7 separate regions of the Homo sapiens genome follow, and all the other regions are linked to region 1. Evidence: promoter capture Hi-C in 16 types of primary human blood cells and fetal thymus (Javierre and others, 2016). All regions are on one chromosome and are shown on one strand. The core of a region is centred on a gene start or on the middle of the fragment in contact, and the rest is flanking DNA. Distances in the headings are between cores, read along the strand shown. Region 1 holds the start of GUF1 (GTP binding elongation factor GUF1). Region 2 holds the start of SLAIN2 (SLAIN motif family member 2). Region 3 overlaps LOC101927157 (a long non-coding RNA gene). Region 4 overlaps TEC (tec protein tyrosine kinase). Region 5 overlaps TXK (TXK tyrosine kinase). Region 6 overlaps NIPAL1 (NIPA like domain containing 1). Region 7 overlaps SLAIN2 (SLAIN motif family member 2).

What was found. The method cuts DNA at HindIII sites, captures the fragments that hold promoters and counts their contacts. A CHiCAGO score of 5 or more calls a contact.
Region 2: a fragment that was not itself captured here is called in contact with the fragment with the promoter of GUF1 in region 1 in 3 of 17 cell types (monocytes, total CD8 T cells and total B cells); the score reaches 8.8 in monocytes.
Region 3: a contact is called between a fragment that was not itself captured here and the fragment with the promoter of GUF1 in region 1, in 8 of 17 cell types (total B cells, non-activated CD4 T cells, fetal thymus and 5 more). The highest score is 11.5, in total B cells.
Region 4: a contact is called between a fragment that was not itself captured here and the fragment with the promoter of GUF1 in region 1, in 1 of 17 cell types (total CD4 T cells). The highest score is 6.3, in total CD4 T cells.
Region 5: a contact is called between a fragment that was not itself captured here and the fragment with the promoter of GUF1 in region 1, in 1 of 17 cell types (naive CD8 T cells). The highest score is 5.4, in naive CD8 T cells.
Region 6: a fragment that was not itself captured here is called in contact with the fragment with the promoter of GUF1 in region 1 in 1 of 17 cell types (naive CD8 T cells); the score reaches 7.6 in naive CD8 T cells.
Region 7: a fragment that was not itself captured here is called in contact with the fragment with the promoter of GUF1 in region 1 in 1 of 17 cell types (monocytes); the score reaches 9.0 in monocytes.

The regions. Positions count from the first base shown.
Region 1 is chr4:44,676,989-44,680,992 of GRCh38, forward strand. It overlaps GUF1 (GTP binding elongation factor GUF1), which reads left to right and starts at 1,432. Exons shown (of 17, transcript NM_021927.3): 1 at 1,432-1,799; 2 at 3,453-3,564; 3 at 3,706-3,854. The coding sequence starts at 1,635. RefSeq lists an enhancer at 651-1,539 and a silencer at 1,611-1,770. The HindIII fragment of the contact is 9,672 bases long and covers 1-4,004 here.
Region 2 is chr4:48,339,783-48,343,685 of GRCh38, forward strand. SLAIN2 (SLAIN motif family member 2) reads left to right here and starts at 1,747. Exons shown (of 8, transcript NM_020846.2): 1 at 1,747-2,346. The coding sequence starts at 1,958. RefSeq lists enhancers at 1,168-1,287, 1,694-2,607 and silencers at 1,438-1,777, 1,918-2,227. The HindIII fragment of the contact is 7,807 bases long and covers 1-3,903 here.
Region 3 is chr4:47,927,752-47,931,553 of GRCh38, forward strand. All of the region lies in intron 1 of LOC101927157 (a long non-coding RNA gene), which reads left to right. Among named protein-coding and RNA genes, the nearest start is that of NFXL1, 15 kb to the left of the region's middle. The HindIII fragment of the contact is 7,796 bases long and covers 1-3,802 here.
Region 4 is chr4:48,137,632-48,141,094 of GRCh38, forward strand. It overlaps TEC (tec protein tyrosine kinase), which reads right to left. Exons shown (of 18, transcript NM_003215.3): 16 at 1,273-1,391; 17 at 1,034-1,191. Among named protein-coding and RNA genes, the nearest start is that of TXK, 5.1 kb to the left of the region's middle. The HindIII fragment of the contact is 994 bases long and covers 1,687-2,680 here.
Region 5 is chr4:48,119,738-48,123,247 of GRCh38, forward strand. The region is part of intron 1 of TXK (TXK tyrosine kinase); the gene reads right to left. Among named protein-coding and RNA genes, the nearest start is that of TXK, 13 kb to the right of the region's middle. The HindIII fragment of the contact is 1,676 bases long and covers 1,337-3,012 here.
Region 6 is chr4:48,029,734-48,033,536 of GRCh38, forward strand. It overlaps NIPAL1 (NIPA like domain containing 1), which reads left to right. Exons shown (of 6, transcript NM_207330.3): 3 at 387-443; 4 at 3,260-3,350. Among named protein-coding and RNA genes, the nearest start is that of NIPAL1, 15 kb to the left of the region's middle. The HindIII fragment of the contact is 2,375 bases long and covers 1,144-3,518 here.
Region 7 is chr4:48,357,453-48,361,419 of GRCh38, forward strand. All of the region lies in intron 1 of SLAIN2 (SLAIN motif family member 2), which reads left to right. Among named protein-coding and RNA genes, the nearest start is that of SLAIN2, 18 kb to the left of the region's middle. The HindIII fragment of the contact is 1,169 bases long and covers 1,170-2,338 here.

The DNA of each region.
Region 1 (4,004 bases), core at 182-2,681:
TTAGTTCATTCTGGATCTTATTCCCGATTGCATTAGTATATCACTATAATAAAAATCTGTCTTCACCACTTTAACTGGTGTCTGCCTTTATCTTTGACAGGATATGGTGAAAATTAATGAGGGTAATTGTGCAAATTATGGAAGTCTGGGCAACATTGAATATAAATTATTGTGTTTACTTCAAGATAGTTGTTAAATTCATTCTCTTACAAGTGTGACAGAATTAGTCGTCTATCAAGTACTGTTTTAATTCATAAAAGTTCCAAGAAAGGGCCAGGCGCGGTGGCTCACGCCTGTAATCGCAACACTTTGGGAGGCCGAGGTGGGCAGATCACGAGGTCAGGAGTTCGAGATCAGCGTGACCAACATGGTGAAACCCCGTCTCTACTAAAAATACAAAAATTAGCCATGATTGCTGGCGCGCGCCTGTAATCCCAGCTACTCAGGAGACTGAGGCAGGAGAATCGCTTGAGCCCAGGAGGCGGAGGTTGCAGTGAGCCGAGATAGCGCTACTGTACTCCAGCCTGGGCGACAGAGCGAGACACCATCTCAGGGGGGAAAAAAAAATCCAAGAAAGAACTGAGTCTGGTACAGAATTCTTGATCCTAAGAAATCCTCCAAATGAAGAAACTTTCAAAGGCTCTGGAAACAATACGAATGATTCTGTCTTCAGTCACAATGATGAACTGAACACAGCTGTCATCTCCCTCCTTCGCACCAAATTCTGGATATTCCAGAAAAGCGCAAGAGAAATAGTGGGAGACAAACACTGGATGCAATCCTCCTATCACCTGTTTTATCCCCCATTCTTACTTCGTCAGAGCTCATTCCATGAAGTGGTAACTTGATGACGATGGAAACATTGGGGGTCCAGCATGGAACTTTTTCCCACCTTTACTTCTTGCCAAAACCTTCCTGGATTCAGTATTGCAATCAATGTTATGGCCCGTTTCCTTTCAGATGCACTTCAAGATTAGCTCTGTCACTGACAACATGGGGAATACATTTCGACCTCCAGATTTTAAAAGTGCCATTATTATTTTGCCATTAGGTAGAAGGCTAAGTCTCAACGTTGTGCTAATAATAGCATCTTTAAGTCCCTGGACTAAGACCTCGGCTCCTGGTTCGGGAATCAGACTGCCTGGGCGGCACTCCAGGCTCCACAGCTCCCCACCTGTGAGCTCCTGGGCAAGTCACTCGGTCCGGATTTCCAGAGGTAGTTTGGGGGAACTGACAGTACACACACCACAGGGCAGTAGTAAGAAAGAGACAATGCAAAGGAATTGGCACAGCACTCAGCAGACAATATAAGCTAATATGTACTCTGTCTACACCCTGCGTTTTAGGGAGTCAATCGAAAGCCTCCACTCACGTGACCACTCCACTACCCGGCGCCAAGACGCGCTGATGTCACGACAGCGTGCGGCGTGCAGACGTCGGCAAGCTGCGCCGCCGCTTCGGGTTGCTTCCGGATCTGGTACTTGGGCAGAGCTCCCCGGGGTTCATTGTCTTCGCTTCACAGGATCTGTTTGAGTCCTGTCCACCGGATCCTACGGGGGGTACCTTCGAAAAAAAACGGGCTATGCTGCTGTTGCGTGTGGGTACCCTCTCCTGACGCCTCCGCCGCCCGGGTCATGTGGACCCTCGTGGGTCGGGGCTGGGGGTGCGCACGCGCTCTCGCGCCACGAGCCACTGGGGCCGCGCTTCTGGTGGCCCCGGGGCCCCGGTCCGCGCCGACCCTTGGGGCTGCTCCAGAGTCCTGGGCTACCGACAGGCTCTACAGCTCCGCAGAATTCAAGGTGACTGCCCCCTGGAATCTGATTTAGCCAAGTTTTCAAACGTTGGAGTGCCCCATGCGATCTTGGACATGTATAGGGCTTTCTGGGACTAGCTCTGAACCCTGCTTGCAACTTGGTACAGGGAGGCAGAGCGGAGAGTGTGAGCACTGCTCAGGTTCCCGACCCTCCACTCCTCACTAGTGTGACCTTGGGCAAGTCACTAACTTTGTAGGTTTTCTCATTTTCAATGTCAAATGTTGATTTGTTTACGCGAGCCACTGGTCGAAGTGCTTTGCGTTTATTCATCTATTTAATTCTAAAAAGCCTACTAAGCAAGTTGCTAGTAAATATTAATATAACGTCCATTTTCCTGCAAATTAAGTAGCTATGTGGCCTGGGCAAGTTACTACATTGTCACTCTCCTACTTCATTTGTTGAATGCAGAACTGATCAAACATCCAGTGGCTAATTTGTGAGATTTGTGTGATGTGAGAAGTGGACTTTTTTAGACTAATACCTAGAATGCAGGAAGTTCTCGGTCTGTCTTTGTAGTTTTATTTCATTCTACCTCAGCCAGAGCAAACCTGTGTAATTTTGACTCTGGTGGGAGAGGGTGGGAGGTTCAACAACTCTGATAATTGTGAATGGATACATTTTAGTCAGAAAAGTGAAGTGACTGAAGGCAAGCTATAAGTAGGCAGAAAGACAAAACCTTAAATTAATCAACTTTGGCCCTAATATGCCTGTGTTTTTAAAAATGGATTTATATTGCAATTCGAAGTATAAAGATGGTGCAATTCTCTATACCTTTTGAACTGAAGGGAAAGAAAATCTACAGGGCAAACATCAGAATTAGTTTTTTTTCGGCAGACTTTCAGCTATAATTGTGCTTTTATTATCTGTCTTTATGGGGCTATTAAAAAACAAAGCTCACGTGAATTTTATATTTCATTGTAATTTCATGGTTTTGCTGATTGTGAAATATGCAGTTGATTGGAAAAAAATAGAGTACAAAAAACTGGTATATTTTGCTTGATAACAATTTCTAGCAATTTGTGATGTGTTTCAGTAAAACGTTAAAGAAGATGTGTACACGAAAAACCAGGAGTTCCATTTTAAAATATTTTTAAGTTTTAAGTGATAAGTCTTTTGTTGGATGTCATCTTTTTTTCTTTCTCACCAGAGAAGCTGCAAAGTAGCAAAATTGTATTTAAAATAAAATTTTGAGGCTCCATTAGAGACACAGATTTTTAAATAAATCTGATTCCTGATTAAATGTGTGATAGGAGCAGAAAATTTATCTTCTTTCAGCTTTTCTGTAGCTCCATTGCCTCAAAAGTTTTACTAGACAAGGTATTCTCAGGCCTTTAGAAGTTCTAGGTGTCTCATGTTCTCCATTCACGATAATAAATTCAGTTCCTGATTGGCCCTAAAAATTGTGTAGAAATGTTAAGGGATTATGATTTAGCTGTATAGTTACCTTTGGCTATTAAACTGATGTTCCTTGTAATATGAACTTAGCCATACATGTCTTTTTCTTAGAATAATAATATAAACAATATAAATGCTAGAAATGATATTGTTCAACGATTAAAAGAATATTCTTTGAATTGGTATACTTGTTTGATAGTATGCCAAATTTATACTCCTAAATGTGGTATTTCCCCTTTCTAGGAAAAACTTGACATGTCTAGGTTTCCTGTTGAAAATATTAGAAATTTCAGTATTGTTGCACACGTGGATCATGGCAAAAGTACTTTAGCTGACAGGCTCCTAGAACTTACAGGTATTTCATTTATGTTACATACTTAACTGATGGCTGCGAGTTATTGGGAATTACTTTTACTCTTAAATTTTAATTTTATAAGTAATATTCTCTTTTTTTTTTAAAGCCCAGAGAAATATCAATAAGTGTTTCTGTTTATAGGGACAATTGATAAAACAAAGAATAATAAGCAGGTTCTTGATAAATTGCAAGTGGAACGAGAAAGAGGAATCACTGTTAAAGCACAGACAGCATCTCTCTTTTACAATTGTGAAGGAAAGCAGTACCTTTTAAATCTCATTGATACACCGGTAAGTTTAATATTAATTTTGCATGTATTGTTAAAGTCAACATTGTGTCAGTAGTGCAAACAGATCCTTGTTTAATTTTTGAACTGAGTATTAAACATCTGCCTTTGCTTTTTGTTTTCTCAGTGTTCTTATGTTAGTGTCAGTTGTTTC
Region 2 (3,903 bases), core at 730-3,229, 3.7 Mb after region 1:
TACAAAGCATTGAATGCAAGTGAAAACTGCTACACGTGAAGTAGTCATGATTTTTAACCCTCCGGCAACAAGTTCAGACTGGTCAGAAAGAGCAATGATATTTAGATGAGCATTACACAGATAATATATATTACTTGACAATTATGTTAGCAAACAATCACATCCTTTGACTAGGTCTGTATAGCTAGAAAAATACTCGACTTATAGTTAGCCAGCAAACTTTTAACACAAATACGTTTTTTGCTACGAATAAATAGCTACGTGGTTTTAAGTAGAACTTATAGTCTACTTAACTTTCAACAAACCAAGTATTGAGTGTCCACTGTGTCAGTGTACTAGACATGGGAAGCAAAAATGAAGTGTCCTTAAATCAAGTAAACAGACAAAAACAAACGAAAAATAATTCTTAGAGAAAAAAGCAATTTAAAAAAAAGTGCAAACACCTATTGAGAACTATTGATCACGTAGTGCTAGAATATGCAGAATAATTAGATCTTTGTGGAATTGTTGGGAAGAGGTTTCCTGAATGAGAGAGTATGGGATTTAAGAAAAGAATCAGATATGGCAGGCGGAGAATATGGCACTAGAAAAGCTAAAGGGTAGAAGCAAGTCAGTCATGGCATGAGTCCACACTCAGGTGTAACAGGACTGGATCATTGTTATTAAACTAAGGGTGGAGGCGGCAACTGAAGAAAAGCTGCAAACACAAGCCAAAGCCGTTCACAATTGACCTCTGAAGACCAACGACTGTGATAATGTGATCAAAACAAAGCATTTAAGTTTTGTTTAGGTTTCCTGCCGCATTCTAAAGGCAGACTTCACATTCTTACAATTTTCTTCATTCTTCAGTATCTGTCAGCGTGTTTAACTACTTTTAACATACAACTTTTAAAAAAGTCAAGACACACTACGAGGAACTTTTTCCGAAGGAAGTGATCCAAAGAACAGAGTGTGAGTCAATAAACGGAGAAAGGGAGTAGAGAAGCGGTTTACTATCCCCCGCTTCCGCCCCAGTGTGCTGTAAACTTTAAGTCGGGAAAACTATGTTTTAACCGATGAGATAATGCCTTTAAAAGTGCTTAGCACACTGTCTGGCCAGTAGGAAGCACTCAAGAAATTATGATTATTTTGACCTTAGACCTCTCTTAACTGTCTGAAACTGGGGTTTCTTATTTTCAGGGGAAGAAACAGGACACAGGCAGTCTAGAGGCTCCTGCCAGCCGAGACAATCTCCAATTAAAAGTCGGCATCGATTAAATATTTGCTGAACAAAGTAAACTGTCTCTCCACCGCCGGGCTGAGCGCCCACTCGAGATCCGGCCCGGAACAAGGGCGAGACTGGCCCGCGGGTCCCACACTCCCTGTAAGGGGTGGAGAACACGCCCACACGCCCAGACCAACAGGCGAGGCTGTTCGAGGACCTTGTTAGCCACCTCAGCCCCGCCCGCCGCGAGCCTTCTGCTGGCCTCCCGTTCTGCAGGGACCCTCCCTAGCCAGCCCGGCCGCGTCCCACATCCGCCGACACGCCCCTTCCGGCCTAATCCCCGCCCCTCAAGCACCGGCCCCGCCCCATAGGCCCCGTCCGTGGCCCCGCCCCGCCGCGAGCTGGCGCCGGGTCCTCTCAGCGCCCGCCGGCGGCCGCGTCCACCCCCGACGCTCTGAGGTCACCGACTGGGCCGGCCCGCGGGGGGCGGAGGGACGGAGGGAAGATGGCGGCAGGGGCCGGATATTGGCGCCGCCTCCCCCAATCCCGGAGCCGGCGCAGATGAGGCAGTTCGGCTGGGGCCAGCGGCGCTTTGGAACCCGAGGTGGGGGGACCCTGGCGGTGGGGCCTGGTCCTGCTATATGCCGGCGCCTCGGCTAGAGTGAGCGGCGGCGACGCCTCTTTCCTCCGTCTCTTTCCCTGTCGCTGCGAGAGCGAGCGGGCGGCGGAGGCGGCGGCGGCGGCGGGGCCGGGATGGAGGACGTTAACTCCAACGTGAACGCGGACCAGGAGGTGCGGAAGCTGCAGGAGCTGGTGAAGAAGCTGGAGAAGCAGAACGAACAGCTGAGGAGCCGCTCGGGGGCCGTGCAGGGCGCCGGCTCCCTTGGGCCCGGCAGCCCGGTTCGGGCCGGCGCGTCCATTCCCTCCTCCGGCGCGGCGTCTCCTCGGGGCTTCCCCTTGGGCCTCAGCGCCAAGTCGGGCGGCGGGCCCGGGTCGGGCCCGAGGCGGACGAGTAGCGAAGAGCTGCGGGACGCCACCTCCTTGCTAGCGGCGGGCGAGGGCGGCTTGCTGGACGAGGTGGAGCCGCTGCGGCCCGACGAGCTGGAGCGCCTGTCAGGCTGGGAGGAGGAGGAGGAGAGCTGGTGAGCGCGAGGCGCCGGGCAGGAGCTGGGCGGGGACGGGCCCGGGGGCGGAGAGCGTCCTCTGAGGGTCCCTCTGGTCGGGCGCCTCGCTTTGTGTAGCCGGGTCCGCTCTCCTGTGGCGACTTGTGGTTTTCTTGCTTTGGCAGAGGGAACGTCAGCTGGAGTTGGGGGTTCGAGGCGTGCGCAAGTAACAGGGTTGTAGCTCGTTGTCCTTTGGATTGTGGACCTTCTGAGTGCTGGACCCTATTGGGGTCTGTGGGTTGGGGCAGCTTGAGAAGGGCTGTTCGCCTGGGGAGGAGTCGGAGGTGGGAAACTGCTTTGTAGGCAGGGATCCTGCTTTGTGTAAGATACTGGCTTTCGGATGGTGGCCCTGGGCATTCTGGATGTAGGAGAGGGGTCTGCTTGATGAGGTATCACCAGGTGTGGGGGTCAGGGGCAGACCAGAGTCGTCTACGTCTATGCAGCGGTTGGTGTTTGGGACCCATTTCTGGCGGGGATGGGGAGACCGTATGAATCAGCACTCCCCTTTGGGTAGTGGGGTAAACCTTGCTTTGTGTGAAGAGAGGGCAGAGGATGGTGCTGCTTTTTTTTTTTTTTTTTTTTTTTTGTTACTCTGTGTGAAGAGTCAAGGGTGGAACGAGCCCTGGCTCTTATTTTCTAAAACAAGAATTGAGTCTGGCGTTTTGCAGAGCTCTGAATTGACAGTTATCACATCCATCTTTCATTTCCACGTCCTTCTAGGGGCAGAGAAAAAGAGTCCTATTTAAAAATTTAAACCAAAGCTATATTGTCATAAGCCACTTCTTGATGAAATTGTGGCCCCCCCACCTTAATATCACTTTCATAAATAGGACATGGGAGGCTTTTCCTCTCGTTTTATTATAAAGATGTGTGTGGGCAATTATTTGTCTTAATTCATTTTTCTTAAAGTTTTAACTTTTAGCTAAAATGTCTCTGCTCTATTGAAATTAAAACTTCTAACAGTGAAATCGAAATCATTCATAGACTCTGGTATTGCAGGGCTGGAACTTTGCAGTGTTCTGAGGTAGTTAAGAGCTTTCCTGGGTTCGCCCCTGGTTTTGCCACTTACTAGCAGTATGACCTTGAGCAAGTTACTCTGAGGCTCACTTTCTTCTTGTATTTGATGGAGAAAATAATAGCACTTACCTCTATAGAGTTATGAAAATTTAGTAAGATAATTATGTATGCATTTAGCGCTGGATCTGGCACATAGTAAACTGTCTAAAACAAGCTGCTATTTGTTACTCTTAAGCCTAGTTACTTAAATCAAGAAACAGTTCTTATATGATGTTGTAGGAGATTCTGGTGATTCTTAAGTGTTGATCCCTGTTCATAAGGCAGTTATAGTCTTGTTGAGAACTAAGTTTTGTGCAGTTAAATAAACTAGAAAGTGTACAGTGAATTACCCAAAGAGTGATAGAACAAAGAGTACTGACAGTGCTCAGTAACTGGGAAAAAAATAGTAGTCCAAAGTAGTTGGGCCAGACTTTGAGGAGGAGGTGGCTTGGAGTCTGAAAGTGAGGAAAGAGCGGGAAG
Region 3 (3,802 bases), core at 820-3,319, 3.3 Mb after region 1:
TTTAATATACATTTTTTCAAATACTCAGCTAAATAATTTGTCAATCAATAAGTAATGGAGTCTAACAGATATTCAGTATTGTCAGGCACTGGACAGACATACTCAGAGATGGGAAGGGTTCACTGTATGTAAAGTACAAAGGTAAGGATAAAGAGGTCATGAAGTTGCTGAGAACTAAGAAAATGATTAAGGGAAAGGTGAGATTTGAATGGAAGGAGGCATTCTGAGTGGTAGGGATGTCATGAGTCAAAGTTTAAATATGAAAATAAGCATAGCCCGTGCTTGGGATCAGAATGGAGAAAATTCTGTTGAATCCCACAGCCAAGGTGATAAATAGGGTTAGCAAAGACCTTGAAAACAGAAGTAGAAAAGTTTGGTCTCAATGTTGATGGTAGATAACCATTATGAGGTTTAAGAAAAGGGAGGTAACATCATAAAAGCAATATTTTTCAGGAAAACTAATATAGAGATAGGATGCTTTGAGATGGGGAGGGCCTTGTGGTAGAATGGCCAACTAGAATTAAAATTGTAGTAGGTCTGACCCCCGGTTTACAAATTCAGATGTGCAAATAGTAATGCTTCAGTAATTCTAGTCTTTCAATCAACTTAATTTGAGCTCTTGAGTTTTATCTTTCCAGGATGGGTTGGAAAATTTACCTGTTTATTAATTAAATCAAGAAACGTTTATTGATCCCCTATTATATCCCAGGCACTTTCCAGGCACTGGAAATGAGCAATACATAAAATAAAGGACCTGTACTCATGGAACTTTCGTTTTAGTAGAGAAGACAGATAATAAACATATAATGTCAAATTATGATCTGTGCAGGCAGATAAGGTGAAGACGGTTTGAATTTAAATCAGGTAGTTCCAGAAACCACTGTAATAGGGTGACATTTGAACAGAGACCTGAATAAAGGGACAGCATAAGCCACTGGACACTGGGGGAAGAATTTCCCCAGATGAGGAAATGGAAAGTATAAGGACCAAGAAAAAGTAATATATTTGGTGTATTTCAGGAACAGCAGGCAGGCTGATCTCACTGAAAGAGAATGAGCAGGCAGAAGAGTTGTAGGCAATTAAACTGGAGAGGTAATCAAAAGTCCTTTAATAGGTAGGACTATGGTGGGAATTTTTTATTTAATTTTTAGCAAGCTGAGGCAAGGGAGTTACATGATCTAATAATGTTTTTAAATGATCACAGTGGTTACTACAGGGAAATGGACCATTGCTGGAAGGGAAGCAAGAGTGAAATTAAAGAGACCTGTTAAGAGGCTACTGTACTTGTTTAGGTGAAAGGTGGTGGTTTGGACTAGGAGTAGAAAAGGTGAGTTATGGTCAGATTCAGGTTATATTTTGAAGATTGAGTTGACAACATTTACTGACAGATTAGATATTAGGTATGAGACTAAGAGGCAAGAAAAGATGACCCAAAGTTTTTCACCTGAAGAAGTGGTAGGTGCCATTTACTAAGATGGAGAATATTAGGGAAGGAACGGATTTGAGGACAATATCATGAGTTCTGTTTAGGGCACATCAAGTTCTCACCAAAGGATATATCAAGTATGTAGTTGAATATGCAAGTCTGGAGTTCAGAGGAGAGGGTGGAGATACAAATTTGGCAGTCTTCAACACATAGACATTATAAAGTGTCATAAGATATATGAGCTCACTTATGGAGTGAATATCATGGCTACACAATACTTTGATATTTAAAGACCTGACGATTAGGAGAAAGCAAGGGAGATGGAAGTTCAGGCAGAGAACTGACCAAAAGCCAAGTGAAGAAAGTGTTTCAAGAAAGAGGGAGTGATCATTTCTGTCAAGTGTTACCAAGTGGTCTAATAAGTCTTGGACTGAGAACTGACCATTAGATTTAGCCATATAGGGGTCACTGGTGACCTTGATGAGAGGTTTCAGTGGAGTGGTAGTAGCAAGTCTTAATTCTGTCAGATTCAAGAAAGAACAATAAGAAAAAAATTCTACAAGAACAAATGCTACAAAATAGTTTTACAAGAAAGGAGAACAAAGAAAAAGGGTGTTAACAGGAAACAGAAATGGGGTCAAGCATCAGGTATTAATATTTGAGGCATTGTGCACTATGGGGACTATCCCATAGAGAAGGAAAAAGTGATAACACGTGGGAGGTGGAGTGGAAGATAGTAGAAAAGAGGATCTAGAAACTTGTGCACAAGTGAAAGTTGTAAACTTTCCATAGGAACTTGTAGTGTTTGTCCATCGTGACATACTTATCTCAGACATTCTTCAGCCCGGCCCCCATCCTGGATACTGTAGTGGAAAGTCACTAAGATCTAATGTGATCGCCACTGCACTGGAGAATGCTTCTAGTTATTGTCATCAGAGTGCAGAGCCCACATGTCCATATGGTATGGATCCTTCAGGTGCAGTGGCTCTTTGTTCAGGGCTGTGTTTTGAGCATGAGACTCTTTTGGAAACTGGAAACTTCAGGTCTGGGGTCCATATTTCTCTTAGCCTTTGTGTTTCTGGACTAGAGTCCCATGTCCCCTCCCCATCACTATTTATTCACATATGGCAACTATTCTCTAGACCTTCTGATAAAATATATTCAGGGTTCACGAAGCAGAAATTCGTTCAACTATCTATGCTCAGAAGCCTCGTCATTTTCTACAAATGCAAGAAAATATTTCTTAAAAGTTATTTCTAATGAAACCAAACCTCTTTGGCATATTTTTGCAATTTCTTACTGGCTACAAAACTCCTTATGTAGGTCTCAATTGCATTTGATTTCTTAGAGCCAATCATTTTTAAAGTATAATTTGAATTATTCTACCCTAAGTGTACTCCAGTGGAATTTATTCACACTGAATTTATCCAGTGGAGTTTATCCATACTGAGTAAAGCCCATCCACCGGTATTTGTCCTCTTTAGGCATTGTGAAATTACATGTGAATGGAACAATGGAAATACTGGTAATGTAGATCAATTAATTATCAGGGTTTTTTTGTTTTGTTTTGTTTTGTTTTTTTGTAAAGTGAGGAGCTGGAAGTGATTTATTAAATTTTAAAATGAGTGGGGAAAATTATATTCCTATCCTAGAGACCCCCTGATAACAGTGGGCAAATGTTCATCCCTTGAGTGCCACTGGGTGGCTCATCTGTCATTCTTTCTGAGGAGAGTAAGCAATGATACCACTGGGGGAGATCATGGAACACCATGGACTTTGGTGCCACCAAAGTACCTGCACTCCTTGGCATCATGAGTCTTTGTGACAAATCCAGGAAACAGGCTCCCTGCTCTCTGAAGAAATAACTCAAGCAGCTCTTTGGACCAAGTCCAAGGTTGTCTGAAGCTCAGCCCAGATAAAACAAAAATGAACCTGATTGGAAAGAGGAGAAGTTGGAATCTTTGTGAGAAACCCAGGTAAACAGGCTCCCTGCTCTCTGAAGAAATAACCCAAGTAGCTCATTGGACCAAGTCCAAGACTGGCTGAAGCTCAGCCCAGATAAAACAAAAATGAATCTAATTGGAAAGAGGAGAAATTGGCAATCTGACAAGAAATCCAATATCAACTCTTTTAAGAACGAACATTGTCAGGCTGGTGAGTAATTTTGTGGTAAATTGCTATTTTCAGAATCCCAAAGGGATACATTGATGAAAAATGCATTCGTTCATCTCTAACCAGTCAGGAAATCAAGAGACAGACTTAAAATGTAATTCTATGAAGCATTGTCCCAAATTCACTCAACATGCACTCTGGCCAGCTTAAAGTAGAAACATATGGATAACAGGCATGTTATCACCAAGTAGAACCCCATAAGGC
Region 4 (3,463 bases), core at 934-3,433, 3.5 Mb after region 1:
CCAAAGGGGTCTTGTCTCTACCCTAATTTACCCTGCATGTACTGCTGCTAGGCTAACGTTTCTAAGACACTGCTTTCATGTCTCTCTTCAAGACCCTGATAGATCTTTTTACTGCCTGTGAAATCAAGTCCTGCAAATTTGTAGGAGCCTCTATAATCTGCCACTTCCCGACCCTCTTGTTACCCAATCTTGTTCCCCACAAAATCCCTCACATGGGCTGTCTGTTAAATAGGGCCACTGTCTCCACTGTTGTGCACACTGTGTTTATAACCACCTCCTTACCTTTGCTCAAGCTGTTCTCTCTCCCTTTAGCACCACTTCCTGCCCAGAATGTCTCTGCCCATCCCAATCAATGCTCTTGGGAGGCAGTACAGCAAGTGGTTGAGACTCTGGGCTTTGGAATCAGACAGGCCTATACTGTTCTGTAGCTAAGTGACCCCAGGCAAGCAGCAACCTCATGACCCTTAATCTTCTCATCTACAGAGTGGCTACAGTCAAAGTATCTCCACCTCAAAGTGTTGTTTTGAGAACTAAATCCAAAACACTAAGTATAGTGCCTGGTACATAATACATGTGAGCTAATGTTACTGTCTTTCAGAAGTCATTTGGTATCTAATCTCTTTTAGGAGGTAACATTTCAATACTTTCAAAGACCTCGGAAAGTTGAGGTTTAGAGAAAGAAACCAACTCTGGTAAAAAAATAATACTTCAACTCTACAAGTGAACCAATGAAAAAAGAGCTACTTATCCAGGCTTATTCCCCAAGTCCCTATCTCAGGCAACCATGGAAGGAGTCCCACTTGGAAGTGAGGAAGCAGCCTGAATGTATCGAGGTAGTTATTAGCATTTTCCACATCTTTACATTCTTCTTCCCGTTATTCAGAACTTGAGTTGAGAGGGTTGGCTTCCTACCTAGAGCTTGAAATCACTATAAAGATGCACCACCTCACTAGGCTATAAAGACTGCATGTTATCCATCTACCAAGCCCAATCCCTAAGAGATTCAAAAAGAAAGCACACAAAAAATCTATACCTCCTGCCAACATCTCAGCATCACCTCATACACATAGTTGGACGCCAACTTCGGCTGGTAGAGTCGGTGGCCTCGAGTAACCATGGTTACCACTTCATAATTGGTGTATTTTTCAAAAGGCATTCTGCCTTCCGTGAATACTTCCCACATTAAAACACCTGGAAAAGGATAAGGATTACCAAATGGATGTATCCACTTTCTCCTCAGGGCGGACGGACATGAGGAAACATGGATCTTACCAAATGACCAGACATCTGATTTGCTGCTGAAGCGGCTGTAATTAAACACTTCAGGTGGACACCACTTCACAGGAAACTTAGCACCAGAAGAACTTGTGTACTGATCATCCAGAACATACCTAGAGTAAGACACACCATGGGTTTACACCTCTGAAGAACAATCTGTTTTTTCTACTTGCTCTTTCATTTTTTTCCCCTTGCAATCAAAAACACAGTTGACTGAAGTCCAACAAGCATCCGGTTGAAGCTAAATGTTCACCTCAGTGGCCACACCTGGTGATTTCCAACTTCCTCTCAGCTTAATTTAAGTGCATGAGATGGATCCATCACCACGTTACCATCTGCACTTTCATTTTTCTGTTTTTCTTTCTTTTTATAAGGCAGTAGAGACAAGGTATCATAAAATAGTTTGCAAGCTTTTCTTTGTAAGCAATTTTGTTCTTTAAATAAAATTTTACCCAAAGGCCCCATATGTAAAAAATCTAAAGCAGAGCTGCTCCAGAGGAAGTGGTATAAAGCATCTAGAAACACACAGGCTTTCAGGCCTCCAATTCCACAGAGCACAATTTAAAACTACAGCATATGAAAATAGCAAATGCAAAAAAACAAAAACAAAAACACAACACAAAATGCCACATGTAAATGGTGGAGTATGTATTTATACATAACATCCCCACATACATACATACACTCAAAACAATACTATATAATTTTTCTATGTGAACATACAATGTCCTTCTGGAAGAACATACAAAAACTGGTAACAGTAGCTAACTTTAGGGGAGAATCCTTGATTAGGGTTGGTAGATGAAAAGACTTCAGCCCTTTCTGTAAGGTGGGCAGCACATATTTACAAAAGGAATGTATCTCTGTATTGTGTGTGAATATACCATTAATTTCTAAAAGGTTCCATGAGAAAATTTTCGAAGAATTGCACAAACATCCTTTGCTATGTAGACAAAGATGGTGACTCGGCACAAAGCCAGCTGCTGGCTGGCAGACAATGCCACTGTGGGCTGGATCAAACTGTCAGCCAGTGGAGTCTGAATTTAGGGTATAAAGAGGTTTTTGAGTGGTTGATACAAAAGTGCAGATTTTCTGAAAGCCTAACATATGAAGATTGAACAGATGAAAGCGGCAGACAGCCTGTCAAATATATAGTATCTGTATATAAAAGCAAATAAAGAGCATTGGGTAATTAATATCCTAAGAGTTGGAAGTTCTGGTCCCATTTCTGACAGTAACAGTTTTCTAATCTCCCTGGGCCTGAGTTTCCTTAGGAGTTAAACTTGGCCCTACATGGCCTGGTCTTTGCCTGCATTTATGAGCATTCCTGGCGCTGCCCGTTGGCCAGCTACCCTGGCGCTTTTTCCGTTCCTTGAGCAGGCCAGACGTGTCCCAGACTTCAAGCTTTTTCACTTTTTCTTCCTACCTGAAATAGTTTATCCTTTTATTTTCACCTACACTGGCTACTTCCTACCTTTTCGTCTCCAGTCAAATCTGCCTATCACAAAGAGGTCATCCTGAACATCAGATCAAGTAGCCACCCTCACTCTTGCCCTGCATCATCATTCAGCACCACCCCAAATTATCTCTATTACAGGGATCAGTCAACTTTTATGTAAAGGGCCAGATAACACATATTTCAGATCTGGCAGGCCATACAGTCCCCGTGACAACTACTTGACTCTGCATCTGTAGCAGGAAAGCAGTCACAGGTAACACCTAAATGAATGAGCGAGGCTGTGTCTCAATCACGCTATTTTTATGGACAGCAACATTGGAATTTCAGATTTTTTTTTACATGTCATAATATTCTTTTCATTTTTTTCATCCATTTAAAAATGTGAAACCCAAATGAGGTTTGGGTCAGACTGACAGCCACAGTTTACCAGTATCGACCATGCTCGATCATGTAACTTTATCAGGTCTTCTGATTCACCCTCTTCCTCAATGTAAGCTGCATGCGGGCAAGGACTTGTAGGTCTTATTCTCTATATGGTTCAGCTTATCATTATGCCTGGCACAGAGCAGGCACCTGATTTTTTATGGGTGGATGTATGGATGAATGAATGGATAGACGGAGGGAGAAGAGAGAAAAAATAAACTAAATACCTTTAAAAGGTATTTTATAATACTATTAAATTATAAAAATTAAGAGAAGAAAAACACTGCAGACATGGACATACTA
Region 5 (3,510 bases), core at 925-3,424, 3.4 Mb after region 1:
GGATGAGGAACCTGCCAAAAAGTCACTCTTCAAAGAGAGGGCACATTAGCACTTAAGGACTCTGTTGACTTTGGCAGGAATGGGTCTCATTTACATTTTAACCAATTTATTCCAGTGCTGTTTTAGAGCCCCAAATAGATCTGTATCTATTCAGGCCACAGGATGCAAAACCAAATGTAGGTTACATAAATGAATGAAGTAGGTCAGAATAGAGTGTAGACTGTGGCAAAATGTTGTGCCCAAGCCCACTTGGAGGTATTCAAATTCAAAATTTTAAAAATACTCCCTCCTTCTCCTATATCACCATTTTTCCCCCTCTACTGGATCATCAGCATATATATACACACACACACACGTACACAAATATACGTATACATACACATACATATGTATATACATGTGTATATATGTATATATGCATATATATGTATATACGTATATGTGTATATATACATACACACATATATACGTATATATGTACATATATACGTATATATGTATATACGTATATGTGTATATATACATACACACATATATACGTATATATGTATATATATGCAGTTACTTCAGCTATTAAAATACATATATACGTATATATACACATATATACGTATATACGTATGTATATATAAAATACATATATACGTATATATATGCAGTTACTTTAGCTGTTAAAAACAAAACAAACTACGCGTGATCTTATTTCCCTCATTGATTTGCTCTCTATTTATTGTAAAATCCAGAAATAAGTCTCTTTTTTTTTTTTTGGTTGAGACCAAGTCTCGCTCTGTCGCCGAGACTGGAGTGCATTGGTGCCATCTTGGCTCACTGCAATCTCCGGCTCCCAGGTTCAAGCAATTCTCCTGCCTCAGCCTCCAGAGTACCTGGGATTACAGACACCTGTCACCATGCCCGGCTAATTTTTGTATTTTTAGTAGAGATGGGGTTTCACCATTTTGGCTAGGCTGGTCTCAAACTCCTGATCTCAAGTGATCTGCCCACCTAGGCCTCCCAAAGTCCTGGGATTAAAGGCATGAGCCAGTCCTCCGGCCCTAGAAATAAGGCTCTTTACTTGCTGTCTCCAACTGCTCTCCTTCCATTACAGTCAGGCTGTCATCTCTACCACTTCTAGAAAAAAAAAACAAAACTGCTCTTGTTAAGGTCACCAGTGACCCATGCACCACTAAATCCAACGGTCAACTCTAAGTCCTCATCTTACTGAACCTCTCTCTTGGCAGCATTGGTACCATATCCCTTGGCTTTGCTCCTTGTCAGTCTCCTTTGCTGCTTTGTTCTCTACCTCCCTGACCTCTGAATAATGCTAGATTTCCCGCAAAGCTTTTGATTTCTTCTTTTCTTTGTCTTATTCACTCTTTTGATTATCCCATTCCCTCCTGCAGCTTAAAAACTATCTATCAGCTGATGACATCAAAATACACACATCTAGCCCAGTTCTAATTAACTCCAGACTCACCTACCCAAATGCATTCTCAAATTCTCCACTTGGATGTCTAGTAGATACTTCAAGTAAACAGGAGATGAAATCTGAACTCTTTTTCTTCCTCCCTCCCCAAACAGGCTCTATCACCCTTCTCCATCTTGTCAAAAGCAATTCCGTCTTTCCAGTTGCTCAGGTAAATAATCTTAGTCATCCTTGACTCCTCTCTCTCTCTCACACACAGGCCAATTTATCAAGAAAGTTTGCTGACTGTGTCTTTAAAAAATACAGACTTCCCCAGTGTCCATGGGAGATTGGTTCCAGATCCTCCGACAGATATCAAAATCCATAGATGCTTAAGATCCTTATATAAAATGACATAATATTTGCATGTAACCTACACACTTCCTCACATATACTTTAAATCATCTCTGGATTACTTATAATACCTAATACAATGTAAATGCTATGTAAATCATTGTTACACTATATTGTTTAGGGAATAATACCAAGAAAAAAATGTCTGTACATGTTCAATACAGACACAACCATCCTTTTTTTTTCAAATATTTTTGTTCCACAGTTGGTTGAACCCAGCAATGTGGAACCTGTGGATACAGAAGGCTGTTTATTCAAGAGTTTCCATTTGGGATGATGAAAAAGTTTTGGAGATAGAGAATGGTTATGGTTTATAACAATGTGAATGTACTTAATGTTGCTGAACTGTACACTCAAATATGGTTAAAATGGTAAATTTTTGATATATATATTTCAACACAATTTAAAACACAAACACACACACACATACTTATTGCTTTCCCCATCTCATCCATCACCACCATGGATAAGCCACCATCACCTCACCTGGCTCACACCAAAAGCCTCCTAACTTCTTCCTGCTTCTCCTCCTCCCACTATGCTTTATTCTCAGCACAGCAGCCAGAGTAATTAATTTGTCTTAAGTCTGATCATGTTACTCCTTGTCTGAGAACCCCACAATAGCTCCCCATTTCACTCAGGGTTATAGCTACATGTTCCACAAGAGCCTATAAAATGCTCCATGATCTGGCCTCCTGTTCCCTCTCATCTCCTCTGCAATAAGCTCCTGCTCACCTCACTCAGCCACACCGCAATGCTGCTGCTGGAGCCATAGGGCCTGCTCTCACCAGAGATTCTTGGCTTTTGTTTTTTCCAGAGCACTCCTCCCTCCTTTCTTAACTCCCTCCAATCCCTCCAAGTCTTTGCTCAAATCTCATCTTCTAAGTGAATAGCCCCCTGATTTGACATTACGGCCATCTGCACTCCCTAACTTTTGAGGTTCCTCACTCTGCTCTACTTTTTCTTTCTTTTTTGGTGTATTTCTCACCTTCTAACATGCTGTGCAATTTATTTACCTTTTTTTCTTTGCTGTTTGTCTACCTCACTAGTATGTAAACAAGCACCTTTGTCTATTTTGTTCACAATTATTATATCCCAAGAAGCTACAACACTTTTTGACACAATGAATACTCAATAAATATTTGTTCAGTGAATGAATGAATGAATGAATATGTTTGAAAGAGCACAAAATTATAAGCTTGCTCAGAGGATGTACCTGTCTTGATTCATTCCTAGTGGAAATTTGCAAATGGTATTTGGAACAGAACAAGCAGGTTCAATCCGAAGTGGTGAACAGTGTGACCAGAGAGGAATAACTCAGTCATAAAAGTCCTTGAAATAAAGGAAGATAAGACCTTGGGAGTCTATGTAGTAGGGAGGCTTCATAGATACTAGAGAACAACTTGGCCACAGGCCAAGCAGAGCAATCAGTTCTCAGCCTGGAAGCCATTGGAAAATGGTCCAGGAAGGTGAGCTCTGACCATCTATATAGCCTCCTGTTTTAATATAAACAAATTATTTAATATCATCAAAGCCAAAAAGTGTATATAATGGCCACTTTATCCTTGAGTAATCACTAGCCTGTTATGTTATTTTCTACTTTTTTCTGTATGCTTGAAATATTTCAAAACTTATATAAAGAAAAGGAAAAACCCAGAAAATCAAATAGGTCTGTGATTTGATAGTTAGGTACC
Region 6 (3,803 bases), core at 1,081-3,580, 3.4 Mb after region 1:
TAATACATGTAAAGTTCTTTAAAAAATGCATTTCCTCCTACCCAACAATTACACTTCTAGGAATTTATCGTGAAGAAATAATCATTCCAGTGTTGCAAAGGTAAATGCGTAGGGAGGTTCGTGAGAGCATTATATTTATAACAGAAACACGGAAAAAAATCTAAATGCAATTAATCCATTAGGGGATTTGTTAAATCATTGTAAATTGGGGGAAAAAAAGCTTTAGAAGAGCTTTGGAAATGACCAAGTAAATAAGCTAAGAGACTTTAGATTTACTGACTTAACTTTTCTAACCATAATCCAGTACGCTTCCTAGAAGTTAATTCTTCAAACCTTCCTCCAGTGTAGAACCCATTTTTTGTTAATTTTTACTTTTTGTATTTTAGGACAAGGTGGACATTCTTACCTGAAGGAATGGCTCTGGTGGGTAGGATTGCTGTCAAGTAAGTTTTTAATACTGAGAATACTGTTTATTTGTAAGATAGTAAATAGATTACATGAAATTTTTCATAATTGGTTAATCTTCCTGTCAAGAATGGAACAAGGATGGAATTTAAGTCTAAACATTTTTGTGTTAGTCAATATATTGTCCTATATATACTATTATATATAAATAAATTAATTTTTACTCTTATTTCCCACCCCCTGTGCTCTCAGTACTGTCCTGGAATGCAAGGGAAAAAGTTGACCTTTGAAATATTACATTTTAACCACAGACTTCTTGTATTTTCTTCACCATAACAATAGAGAAAAGTACTTTTCTTTCATATTTTCCCACCTCCTAATTAGAACAACTATTGTAGCTGCATATTTTCTCAAGAAAGAGTACAGTTTCCTTGCCAGGACAACACGGATAAGTGAAAGGCTTCTGTGGCTGCTTGGTACTGAACAAATGGAGAAGAAATGAAGGGTGTCAGCACTCTCCTTCCTCCCAGACCTGCTGTGAGGATTAAACGAGACTTTACAGGATCTGAAAGCACTTTCTAAATGCTAATGTGATGTCCAAATAGAAGGCAGTGTTCATCTCCCTCAGCCACTTTTGCTGACTTCAGTCTCCCCACTAAGTGAAATTTCTTAAATCCCAAAGCGGAGGCTCCCCTCAAAAAGGGCATCATAAATTCCCTCTGTAGCCAGGAGTCTTAAAGCTTCCCTGAATTTCCCCAAACCAAGCAACACATTTCAGTATTTGTAAGATCCTGTTATGAGAAGGAACTGGGTACCTTTTCTTTAATAAATGGTGGAATCTAAAAGGATGATTAATAAAGAGAATTTAAATATGTATAGCCCCTTCAGTTCTTGTTTATTGTGGATTTTTTTGGGGTTTTTTTGTTTTTTGTTTTGTTTTTTTTGAGATGGAGTCCTGCTCTGTGGCCCAGGCTGGAGTGCACTGGCAGGATCTCGGCCCACTGCAGCCTCTGCATCCCAGTTTCAAGCGATTCTCCTGCCTCAGCCTCCCGAGTACCTGGGATTACAGGCACACACCACCACACCCAGCTAATTTTTGTATTTTTAGTAGAGACAAGTTCTCACCATGTTGGCCAGGCTGGTCTCGAACTCCTGACCTCAGGTCACCCACCTCGGCCTTCAGAAGTGCTGTGATTACAGGCGTGAGCCACCACGCCCGGCCACCCCTTCAGTTTTTAGGGTGCTTTTACATCCATTTTCTTTATTTGAATAAAAATTGACAAGGGCTGTCTGGGAAGATTCCAGATAGGTATTTGGATCTTTCTCTTTTTCTGTCTTACTTGCATCTCCCCACCCTCTACCCATACTTTATAATGAAAATATGAGGAGAGTATTATGTGACTACATTTGCAATTTTGTTTTCACCGTGTAAAAAAGTTTATGTCAGTATTGAAGAGAGAAAAGCATACATTAGAGATTAAGTAAGTGATATATATACAGTACTTTAATCATGAAGTCGTTGTTTTCCTGGAAAGCTATCTATAAAGATAAAAATATAAATAATATAAAGTATCCAAGGAAACCTTAATATTCCAAGAAAACTGCCACGGTTTTTTTTAGACAGAGTCTCGCTCTTGTCGTCCAGGCTGGAGTGCAGTGGCGTGATCTCGGTTCACTGCAACCTCCGCCTCCCAGATTCAAACGATTCTCCTGCCTCAGCCTCCAGAGTAGCTGGGATTAAAAACGCTTGCCACCACACCCGGTTAGTTTTTGTATTTTTAGTAGAGATAGGGTTTCACCATGTTGGCCAGGCTGATCTCGAACGCCTGACCTCAAGTGATCTTCTCCCCTCTGCCTCCCAAAGTGCTGGGATTACAGTCATGAGTCACCATGCCCGGCCTTGCCGTGATTCTTTCGATGATAGCAATGTCTTAATTATTCTGTTCTGTAAATTTAGATTTGTTTAATGATGTTTTCCTAATGGTGAATACTCCTATAGATTTGGGGGGATGTAGCGTAGCAGCCAGACAAAGGGAAAAAGAAAAAAATCATGCTGGTGTTCCTTTCTCTCTCTACAATAAGCATTTGCCTGGTGTAGTTGCCAGCATGAAATACTACATTCTGTGGGCAAGTTTCCCACTGTGTTCTGTGAGAATAACTTGGCCCCAGTACCAGAGCCCAGCTCTTGAAGGGATTTCTCTCACTCTAGAAGTTATTTATAGCACACTATATCATGCAAGTCTAGAGTTCCTCAGATAAGAAAAAGATTACATTCAGGAGCATATCATGACTTTAAAACAGCTGCCTGGATCTCGTTAAGCTACTGAGATACTGTTACTTGCTTATAGATCACTTACAATAGAGGGATATCTAACTTCATGGGCCTATGGCAGGTATTTCTGGCTATTCCCTACCTACACACCAGATTTAACCATTCTAATTTTCCAAGCTGGTTTTGGTTTCTGTGGGTAACCTACAAAGCTGTAGGTATTCTTGAGCAAGTGAAATAATTCTCTGCTTACTACAAAGCTACCTCTACTAGATTTCATTAGAGTCACCAAATATGTCTTCAATATTGAAGTAGCTAAAAATTTCTATTGAAAGCCATTTAAAATGAGTACTCATCTGTCACCATTTTTTGCATCTTTTGAGTTTATCACCTGGTATTACAGTTTGTCTGCATCTCTTAATATTAATTATCTCCTACCTGCTATAAAACATGTTACATCATTCTTTTTAGCTAGATCTTCCCATGTATTTGGGTTAAAAGTCCACTGCTTTGCATGAGTCATTTGTTTTTCTCTTCTGACAAGTAAGCCCATTTTTTATATCAATATCTCTGCTTGCTTTCTAGTGGGAGCAGGAGAGGCTGCAAATTTTGCTGCTTATGCTTTTGCACCTGCCACCTTGGTCACCCCTCTGGGTGCTTTGAGTGTTCTCATAAGGTATGTGAGCAACAGGGAACTTGGCTTCTGTAGGTATTTTAAGACCAAGATAAACTTAAACCATAATAAACATATGGCTATGGATATCTAAAAGCAAACACACAAATCTAGACCAACCTGGGCTCTAAAAGTCTAGATGAACCCAAATTATTTCTGAGGCTCCTGGGAAGCTTTGGTCAAGTCACTCAGGCTCAGTTTACTCATTCATAAAGTGAGAACAATACTTTTTCTTGCCTGAAATCACAAAAATAACTTGAGAAGACTATAAAATAACAGTAGAAATAGGAAATAGACTGTCACATTATTATTTTAAAAACCTAAGACACAGTGAGTTTGATTTCCTACTAACATAAATGTGTTTTACATTTGTAACACTGCAATGAAGCATAGAAGATTTTTTAAATCTCTCATCAGAACAAATTGCCAGAGTCCTGTCAATTATTTTCCTCATCA
Region 7 (3,967 bases), core at 504-3,003, 3.7 Mb after region 1:
CTCACTGCAGCCTTGAACTCCTGGGCTCAAGCAGTCCTCCCACCTCAGCCTCCCAAGTAGCTGGGACTATAGGCACCTGCCACCGTGCTCAGGTGACTTTTATTTTTTTCCCCCAAGATGGAGTTTTGCGCTTGTTGCCCAGGCTGGAGTGCAATGGCATGATTTCGACTCACCGCAGCCTCCACTTCCACTTCCCGGGTTCAGGTGATTCTCCTGCCTCAGCCACCTGAGTAGCTGGGACTACAGGCATGCACCACCACGCCCGGCTAATTTTGCATTTTTGGTAGAGACAAGGTTTCTCCATGTTGGTCAGGCTGGTCTTGTACTCCCAACCTCAGGTGTTCCGCCCGACTTGGCCTTCCAAAGTGCTGGGATTACAGGCATGAGCCACCGCACCCGGCCCCACTGATGTTTTTAAAAAACTTTTGTAGAGACAGTGTCTCACTATGTTGCCCAAGTTGGTCTTGAACTCCTGGCCTCAAGTGACCCTCCCACCTCAGCCTTCCACAGTATTGGAATTACAGGTGTGAGCCACCACGCCTGGCCCTATTAAAGTCTTTAACTTAGGAATCTTTTATATTCTTTTTTAGCAATGCTATTAGGCAGTAAAGTATAATATTTAAGAGTACTGCTTCTGGAGCACTTTTGGTTTTGCCATTTAATAGCTGTGCCACCTTGGACAAGTTACTTACCTCACTTGTCTCAGTGACCTCATCTGTAGAATGGAGATTATAATAATACATATCTTATAATTTTGTAATGAAGATTGAAAGAGTTACTATATTTAAAACACTGAAGCAGTGCCTGACATGTAATGAGCATTTGATACAGTATAAATTATAATAATTACTGTTACATTGACTAACAAAGCTTTTTTTTTTTTTGAGACGGAGTTTCACTCTTGTTGCCCATGCTGGAGTGCAATGGCGCGATCTTGGCTCACCACAACCTCCGCCTCCCAGGTTCAAGCAATTCTCCTGCCTCAGCCTCCCGAGTAGCTGAAATTACAGGCGTGCACCACCATGCCCGGCTAATTTTGTATTTTTAGTAGAGATGGGGTTTCTCCATGTTGAGGCTGGTCTCGAACTCCTGACCTCAGGTGATCCGCCTGCCTCAGTCTCCCAGAGTGCTGGGATTACAGGCGTGAGCCACTGCGCGCGGCCCAACAAAGCTTGTTAAAGCATTATAAGCAATGTATCCTAATGGTTTAGAATTATTAAATTATATTTGCTTGTGAGTAAAACCAAAGATACTTGTATTTTTTTATTTATTTTTATTTTTTTTTGAGATGGAGTTTCACTCTTGTCGTCCAGGCTGGAGTGCAATGGTGTGATCTCAGCTCACTACAACCTCCTCCTCCCGGGTTCAAGCGATTCTTCTGCCTCAGCCTCCTGAGTAGCTGGGATTACAGGCTCCCGCAGCCACGACTGGCTAATTTTTGTATTTTTACTAGAGATGGATTTTCACAATGTTGGCCAGGTTGGTCTTGAACTCCTGACCTCGGGTGATCCGCCTGCCTCAGCCTCCCAAAGTGCTGGGATTACAGGCATGAGCCACCACGCCCAGCCTAAAGATAATAAGATAAACTTTTATTAAAGTTTTTTTAATGATAGAATTATTAAAATGGAAACAAATTACAATCTCAAAGTGGCCACTTTAATTTACTTTGGTATCCTCCCTTTATCTCTTTTCATATTGCTTTTTTATTCAGTGTGAATTCAGATCCAAATATTTGAACATGTATAAGTGTCTGTGTTGGGGATTCTGCATTGAACGTTGTGAAGACAGTGTCTGTTCTTTTGCACTGAATGTACCTTACTCAGTGAATAGGTAGAGGGGGATGATTTAGGGGTAGTAAAAGTCTGATTATTTTCCTCAGCCTGTAAAAAATTTGCATCTAAAGAAATTTATTTCAATAATGCTTTTAATATAACTTTTATTTTTATCTTAAATTTAAATCATTTTTGTCCTTGGCTTCAGTAGCCTACTTTCAGCTGGCTACAATATGAAAAGTGATTACTGCGGTTACCACAGATTCAGCAAAGTAACTCCTGTCTCCCTTCCTCTCCCCATTATTTACTTATTAATATATGTCTATGTGAAGAAATATATTAACAATGTGAAGAAAAGTCTGGAGAGACATACTCCAAATTGTAAATAATTTTGGAGTGTAATTTTGGTAGAGAAAGGGAGGTTATTATCATTTCTTATATTTGTACATTTCCATATTACTGAAAGTTATTACACTTAAAGAAATAGTTATATTCTTAGTTGTCTTTAATCACCATATTATACAGGTATGTGTGACATATGGGCCAAAATATGACTTCTTATTGTAAGCTTTATATAACTTTATTCTTAATTACATTTCTAATAACTCAGTATTTAACAGTATACTTAAATTGTATTTAATAGTGGTTAGGCCGGGCACGGTGGCTTACGCCTGTAATCCCAGCACTTTGAGAGGCTGAGGTGGGTGGATCACGAGGTCAGGAGTTCGAGACCAGCCTGACCAACGTGGTGAAACCCCGTCTCTACTAAAAATACAAAAATTAGCTGGGCATGGTAGTGCGCACCTATAATCCCAGCTACTCAGGAGGCTGAGGCAGGAGAATCGCTTGAACCTGGGAGGCGGAGGTTGCAGTGAGCTGAGATCGCGCCATTGCATTCCAGCCTGGGTGGCAGAGCGAGACTCTGTCTCAAAAAAAAAAAAAAATAGTGGTTAGTTCCCTTGTAATGATTGTTCTAAGGGAAAAAGTGGCATTTTGAAAGGCCAGTTTATTCCTATCACATTTTGACAGCTTTATCAAGATGTTATTTATATACCATAAAATGCACACGTTTAAAGTGTACTGTGGGCTGGGCAGGGTGGCTCATGCTTGTAATCCCAGCACTTTGGGAGGCTGAAGTGGGTGGATTACTTGAGGTCAGGAGTTTGAGACCAGCCTGCCAACTTGGGAAAACCTGGTCTCTACCAAAAATACAAACATTAGCCAGCATGGTGGTGTGCACGCTTGTAATTCCAGCTACTCAGGAGCCTGAGGCATGAGAATCACTTGAACCTGGGAGACAGAGGTTGCTGTGAGCTGAGATTGTACCACTACACTCTAGCTTGGGTGATGAAGTGAGACTCTGTCTCCAAAAAAAATTAAAAAAAACATAAATAGATAAGAAATAAAGTGTACTGTGGTTTTCAGTGTTCAGTAGTTTTTAACGTATTCACAGAATAGTACAACCATCACCATAATTTAGTTTTATAGTATTTTCAGCATACTGAAAAGAAACCCTGTGCTCATTAGTAGTCATTTCCCATTCCTTCTCTCCACCCCCTCATCTATCCCCAGGCAACCACTGATCAACTTGTCTCAGATTTGCCTATTCTAGACATTCCATATCAATGGTATCATACAATCTGCGATGTTTTGTGACTGGCTTCTTTTACTTAGCATAATGTTTGAAGTTCATGTGTAGCATTTTTATTGCCTCCAACACATTTTTAAATGTCTCTTTTCAAATTATAAATACCAACTCAAAAAATTCAAACAGGACAAAAATGAATAAAATATAGTCTCTTATTAGAATGGGCGTAAGGGATAGAATTTCCTTTTTGACAGGGCAATCTAAATGTCTACAAAGATTCTTTCTTAAAACATTTTGCATCAATGTTGTACATAGTGGAGACACTTAATATGATCTTACTGGAGATGTTCCAGGAAGGTTTTCCTGAAGAATTGAAATTTAAGCTGATACCCAATAGAAAATAGAGAAGAGCTGGATGAACTTGAGCAGGGGAGGGTGAGGTAAGCAAAAAAGTGGAATGAAACTTGTTGCAAGGGGAACAACATGCACAAATGACCTAGAAGCAAAAGTGTTGAGCTTTCCAGGAATAGAAATTAATTCCATATGGCTGCTATTTAAATATGTGTGGTGGAGGAAGGTGAGAAATGAAGCTAAAGAAGAACTACAA